2 separate regions of the Homo sapiens genome follow, and region 2 is linked to region 1. Evidence: promoter capture Hi-C in human tissues and cell types (Jung and others, 2019). All regions are on one chromosome and are shown on one strand. The core of a region is centred on a gene start or on the middle of the fragment in contact, and the rest is flanking DNA. Distances in the headings are between cores, read along the strand shown. Region 1 holds the start of FAM209B (family with sequence similarity 209 member B). Region 2 has its middle 220 kb from the start of TFAP2C.

Evidence for each region. Contacts are between HindIII fragments. The study calls those that stand out against the background at their distance.
Region 2: a contact is called between a fragment that was not itself captured here and the fragment with the promoter of FAM209B in region 1, in 4 of the 25 tissues and cell types used here (aorta, mesenchymal stem cells, mesendoderm cells and 1 more).

The regions. Positions count from the first base shown.
Region 1 is chr20:56,531,266-56,534,603 of GRCh38, reverse strand. It overlaps FAM209B (family with sequence similarity 209 member B), which reads right to left and starts at 1,358. Exons shown (of 2, transcript NM_001013646.4): 1 at 1,014-1,358. The coding sequence starts at 1,262. It also overlaps a transcript of FAM209A not described here. The HindIII fragment of the contact is 6,468 bases long and covers 795-3,338 here.
Region 2 is chr20:56,848,691-56,852,441 of GRCh38, reverse strand. No RefSeq gene overlaps it. Among named protein-coding and RNA genes, the nearest start is that of TFAP2C, 220 kb to the right of the region's middle. RefSeq lists a silencer at 3,728-3,751. The HindIII fragment of the contact is 7,669 bases long and covers 1-3,751 here.

The DNA of each region.
Region 1 (3,338 bases), core at 109-2,608:
GCTAGGTTTTGTATTTTTAGTAGAGACAGGGTTTCACCATGTTGCCCAGCTGGTCTCGAACTCCTGACCTCGTGATTCACCCGCCTCAGCCTCCCAAAGTGCTAGGATTACAGGGGTGAGCCACCGCGCCTGGCCTAATTTCTGTATTTTTAGTAAAGACGAGGTTTCACCATGTTGGCCAGGCTGGTCTCAATCTCCTGACCTCAAGTGATCTGCCCGTCTCGGCCTCCCAAAGTTCTGGGATTACAGGCATGAGCCACTGTGCCCGGCCTACACCTTTATCTCCTTACAGAAGTTTCATATTTTGTTGGGATGATATCATTTCCATTTAGCTCAGGAATTTTCAGTAAGTCAAGCACTAGGAAAAATGTAAAAAGCAAGGGAACAGTGAATTTGGCCCTGTGAATAATATAATTTTGACCTTCTAAAACACACCATAAGTTCTTTATTTTGAGACAGAGTCTCAGTCGCCCATGCAGGAGTGCAGTAGTGTGATCTCAGCTCACCACAACCTCTGCCTCCAGGGTTCAAGCCATTCTTCTGCCTCAGCCTCCCGAGTAGCTGGGATTACAGACACACGCCGCCATGCCCAGCTAATTTTTGTATTTTTAGTAGAGATGGGGTTTCACCGTGTTGGCCAGGCTGTTCTCAAACTCCCGACCTCAGGCAATCCACCTGCCCTGGCCTCCCAAAGTGATGGGATTACAGCATGAACCACTGCGCCCGGCTGAGTTCTTGAATCTATCCTACATTTGAAAAAATCCATCTAACCAGAAGAACTTTGAGCCAAGAAACTAGAGGTCATCTTCCACTGTTTGTCCCAATATCTGTGGATGTGGGGACTATTGTCTTCACTAAGGATACATCAGGAAGTGAATTTGCCAGCTTTGCCCAGGACCATGAGGTCGGTTCATTATACCCAACGGTGCCGCCTAGACTCACTAGAACATCCGTTTCCCTGAGACTCCTGAGATTGAATCAATATGGTGTAAAAAAAATGGAGCCATCCTTACCTTATTCTTCTCACTGTCTCTTTGACACTGCAGTATCACAAACGGCACAACAGCAAACAAAAGCCAGAGCCATTTGCTCCCAAGCCAGCCTTGGGTGTGCTCTGGTAGGTTCTGCCGAATCCGAAAGTGCTCTCCACACGGCACCTTCCCCTGGGGTTCGCTAGTTTTCTGTCTCAGAGAAGAGAACATAAAGGCATAGCTGCAGGTGAGGCACAGAAGCAGGACCAGGGACGATTTCAGCGTCCACATGGTGAGCAGAGATGGGGAAGGGAGTTGCTCATGACGGGTTTGCTTGCCCTCGCAACTGGAAGACTGGGCACCTGGTGCCAGGCCCTTGGTGATGTCACAGAGGCCCTGAGCTGAGGCCACCCTGGCCATTGTGATGATTTCAGGACAGAGGTTACAGGTCACAGGAGTCGCCCGGGAGGAGGACTCAAAGGGAGATGGGGGCATTTCCAGCAGGCAGTCAGAGAGAGAGGATAGGCACGACGGGGTGCCAATTCCCTGCCAGGGGACTCTTTCCAACCCTCGAGCTTTTGCTGGTAGAGGCCGTCATGTTTCTGTTTTTCATTTGTTTGATCCAAACACTATGATGAGCAGAGGGAGATGCCATGTGCCCCGTGGAGCTGAGTTAAATGGGAGAGAAAGATATTAAACCACAGGCTACCTACAAACTCGGAGCCACCTATGTGTTTTGTTTGGCCTATGTTGTTTCTAAAAATTATTAGTCAGTACTTAAATGTTGTGGGGGGTGGGTATTTCACTTTAAAAGTCCAGGTTTCCGGCTTCCTTTGAAAATATGAGAGCGTGGCCGGGCGCGGCAGCTCACGCCTGTAATCCCAGCACTTTGGGAGGCTGAGGCGGGCAGATTACGAGGTCAAGAGATCGAGACCATCCTGTCCAACGTGGTGAAACCCCGTCTTTACTAAAAATACAAAAATTAGCTGGATGTGGTGGCACACGCCTGTAGTCTCAGCTACTTGGGAGGCTGAGACAGGAGAATCACTTGAACCCAGGAGGCAGAGGTTGTGATGAGCCGAGATCACGCCACTGCACTCCAGCCTGGCAACAGAGCAAGACTCTGTCTCAAAAAAAAAAAAAAAAAAAAAAGAAAAAGAAAAAGAAAGAAAAGAAAATATGAAGAGTTCTGGAAGCACTGGGCCCACACTGTCATAGAACCAGTCTTCTGCTAGAGCCAAGTGAAATCATCCATCCTGTGGCCATATTCCCTCCACAGTCCCCACCACTCCCTATTACCACATACCATCATTGACAGCAGCAGTGTGTGCCTGCCTTGGGTTAAGAGTATACTTTGGAGCCAGGCCTGGTGGCTCACACTTGTAATCCCAGCACTTTGGGAGGCCAAGGTAGGCAGATCACCCAAGGTCAGAAGTTTGAGACCAGCCTGGCCAACATGGTGAAACCCTATCTCTACTAAAAATACACAAATTAGCCAGGCATGGTGGCATGTGCCTGTAATCCCAGCTACTTGGGAGGCTGAGACGGGAGAATCACTTGAACCCAGGAAGTAGAGGTTACAGTGAGCTTAGATGGCGCCACTGCACTCCAGTCTGGGCAACAGAGCAGGGCTCAGTCTCAAAAAAAAAAAAAAAAAAGAAAAGAAAAGAAAAGAAAAGAAAAAAAGAGTATACATTGGGCCAGGCACAGGGGCAGGGGCTCACACCTGTAATCCCAGCACTTTGGGAGGCCAGGGTGGGCAGATCACCTGAGGTCAGGAGGAGTTCCAGACCAATCTGGCTAACATAGCGAGACCCCATCTCTACTAAAAATACAAAAATTAGCCAGGTGTGGCAATGCACGCCTGCAATCTCAGCTACTTGGGAGGCTGAGGCAGGAGAATCATTTGAACCTTGGAGGCAGAGGTTGCAGTGAGCTGAGATCAAGACACTCTACTCCAGCCTGGGTGACAGAGTGAGACTGTGTTTCAGAAAAGAAAAAAGAGTATAGTTCGATTAAAATTGTGGTAAGAGGCCGGGCACGGTGGCTCATGCCTGTAATCCCAGCACCTTGGGAGGGTGAGGTGGGTGGATCACCTAAGGTCGAGAGTTTGAGACCAGCCAAGCCAACATGGAGAAACCCCATCTCTACTAAAAATACAAAAAAATTAGCTGGGCATGGTGGTGCATGCCTGTAATCCCAGCTACTCGGGAGGCTGAGGCAGGAGAATTGCTTGAACCTGGGAGGCAGAGGTTGCGGTGAGCTGAGATTGTGCCATTGCACTCCAGCCTGGGCAACAAGAGCGAAACTCCATCTCAAAAAAAAAAAAAAAACAAAGAAAGAAGAAAAAACAATTGTGATAAGAAC
Region 2 (3,751 bases), core at 1,101-3,600, 320 kb before region 1:
AGGTGGCAAGGTGAGGTGGGGGGAGTTAGTGCAGGGGCAGCTGTGTAATGGGCAAACGTCCTGTCTGGAGTATCTGTATCTCCTCCAAGTAAATGCCTAAAAAAGCATCATCTGTCAAAAATCCAGAGTCTAACGTGATCACATCCGCCGGTTACATGGTTAAGACACACGGCATGCTATCTCTCAGTCACTGAAGGGCAAGTAGGTTTATGAGCTGATCTGCTCAACTGTACGTTGTAACATTTTTGGCTGCCTATTTTAGTCAAAGCAATGAGTTTTTCTTGGGAGTGTAAAAGTAGACCTATTGAATAAACAAACTGAGATTCTCGCCTCACCTCATATGGCAAAATGTATTCCTGGTGGACCAAAGATTAAAATGTTAAATAAGCAAGCAAACAAATAATGTAAATAGTGAAACTAAAAGGAATAGAAAAATAACTATGAATTAATATTTTATAATCTTGGGGATAAAAAGAGTCTCAAAGCATGGTACTAAGGACTAAAACCATAAAAAACATTTTTAATTACCTAAAAATTAAACTCTGAATAGCAAATAAAAAAGTATAAGCAAGTTGAAAAATAACTAAATTGGGGAAATATGAAAAAGGTGACAAACATATTGTGTAGAGCCTTAATATGTAAAGAGTAATTGCTAATCAATAACAGACAGTCAAATATACTAATAGGATGTAAACAAGCAAATACTTAAACAAGAGATACAAATGACAAAGGTACATGAAAATATAACCACTTCAATTAATTCAATGCCCACCACATTGTAGATGTTCGGTAAAATAGTTGTTTGTATGTGAATCTGTCCTGAGTCACATAATATAAGCTCACTGAGCCCTTATCTGGAGATCCAGAGAGTTAGGACAAGAACAAAGCTCAGCTCTGTTCCCAGGCCTGCAGAAAGTCACTGCGGCAGCCACTGAAGAAGTCCTTGCCACTTACTAGCTGTGTGACTTTGGCAAGTTCCTTAACTTCTCTTTGCCTAAGAAGTTGAGTAAATGAGAATAAACAGGGATAGTAATAATGCCTACCTCATAAGACTGTTGCAAAGATCAGCAAGTTAATACACGTAAAGTACTTAGAACAGCGCCTAGCTCATCAAAAAGACTCAACTGCAAAGTTCAGAAATAAAGCTAATTGGGAAGCAAGGAAACACCCATCCATTCATTGATCCGCTCATTCAACAGTTAGTCAGTGCCTAGCATGTGCCAGGTATTAGCATGGCTGTGATGGATGCTCATGCCACAATAAGACAGAAACTGAAGCAATCACAGTAAATGAGAAATGATCTCTGTTAGGGAAAACACCTTGTTGGTGAAGGAACCCCAGACTGGGTGCCTGACCTAGTCCCTCCTCAGGGGGAAACGTTCGGGAGAAGGAGCTTTTAGAACTGAGCCCTGAAAGTTAAGTAGGTGTTTTCCAAGAGAAGAATGTTCCAGGCATAAAAAGCAGTCAAGCAAACTCTCAGATGTGCAAGAGAATGCAAAACAATTTCAGTCCATGTCTTCTCACAGTGTAGACCTGTCATTAAGGGGGTGGGTTTGGAGTCAGACTGTCCAAAGTACATCCAGGCTCTACCAACTTTCCTGTGTGGTGTGTGTGTATGTGTGTGTGTGACCACAGACTCTTGCTCGGTTTTTCTCTGTCTCAGTATTCTCACCTGTAAAATGGGGATAAAAGTGGTTTGTCTCCTGGGAGTTGAGAGGTTTGCTGATTTCAGACATGTGACACACCTATCACGGGGCTGGCATGTCAGGAAAGCACTGGACAGGCCACTAGGCTGGAAAGATGACCTTTGGAGGACATTTTAAATCAGGTGTAAACTGACTCCTAAAGGCCACTGCTCATAAGTGAGGAATTTCCACAACCAGAAGCTGGCCTTCTCAAATCACCCTCGGGATGATTCTAATTCAAGGTTTCTCAGCTACCTCACTTCACTGTCAACATTTAGAGCCAGATTATTCTTTTTTTTTTTTTTTTTTTTTTTTTTTTTTGAGACAGAGTCTCACTCTTGTTGCCCAGGCTAGAGTTCAATGGCATGATCTTTGCTCACTGCAACCTCTGCCTCCCGGGTTCAAGCAATTCTCCTGTCTCAGCCTCCCGTGTAGCTGAGATTACAGGTGCCTGCCACCAAGCCTGGCTAATTTTTATATTTTCAGTAAAGGCGTGGTTTCGCCATGTTGGCCAGACTAGTCTTGAACTCCTGACCTCAAATGATACACCCACCTCAGCCTCCCAAAGTGCTGGTATAATGGGCGTGAACCACCGTGCCCGGCCAAGCCAGATTATTCTTTAACTTGGGGTAGGCTAGGGGTTGTCCCGGGCACTGTAGGATGTTCAGCAGCATCCCTGGCTTTACCCCAGCTGCCAGTATTGAGCGCACCACCACCACCACCACCACCACCACCAACAACAACGACCCAGTTTTGATCACCAAAACTGTCTCCAGGCATTGCCAAATGCCTCCTGTGGGCAAAACCACCCCATTAGGATCCATTCCTCCAAGCCAGTGCAGGATCTTCTGGGAAAAGCCCAGCTTGGTAGGGTAGTCCCTTCTACATCAGAAAGAAATGACCACAGTGGCGATCGACTGCTCACTGGATGTCCACAGGCCAAATTCAAGCCTCACATGTGTTTTCTTTGACCCAGGAGACATTTAACAATCTCCTTCAATGGGCTGACAATAGATTCTTAAAAATCAAGCCATTTCACATAAAAATCCAGCTTTCTGGCTTCTCTTGAAAAATGAGGATTCCTGGTAACACTGGATCCGCATTCCTCATGCAGCAGCAACGAGGTTGCATCTGCTGCACTCAGGGATACAGGCTTCCTGTTTGCCACAGTCCTCGGCACTCTATACCATATGTGCCCTATATTTGAAGGACCAGAGTCACTTTCTCTCTATCCCATCCCATTTTCACATTTATACAACCTTGCTGGCGGCTGAACATGTTTGAATTGAGATCTCCTGATCTAATGTGCTTGCCTGCACACACACACATTTGCACACATTACATATACACATGCACACAACCATATAAATATATAAACACATACACATGCGCACACATGCACATGAGTATACATATAACAACATGTATACACACATAGGCATACATGCATAGACACATAAATGCACATACACACCTACATATATACGCCTGCACACATGCACACACACATATACATGTGCACACATGCATACATGCATGTACACACATATACACATACACACGTGAACACTACCTACACATATGCACACACATACATATGCACACAAACGAATATACACATACATACATACACACATGCATATGTGCACACACCTATGTGTATAGACATATCTATATGCACACACACATGCATGCACGCAGACTCTCACACCCACGCAGACCCCATGGCTCACCTCCGCCGTCCACTGCAGCCCAGGACACACAGCATCCCTGATGCACACACCTGGATGTCAGGCTCTGACCTTTGAAGTCACGACTCCCACCACGGGGGCCCTTTGCATGTCACGCTGGATTGATGGATGGGACAGCTCAGCTCTCAGAAACTACCGCGTGTGTTTATTATGGCAATGAGTGTGGGCCGGGCCTGCTTCTGGCTTGTGTAAGTGTCAACTGGTGACAACCTGTGCTCTACAGAAGGCAGATGTCAAGGGGCTGGGGGCAGTGGAGTCACCGCCCGCACTGTGGAGACCACCCAGAGGCAGCACTCACACTGGCCCTGGCTTCCC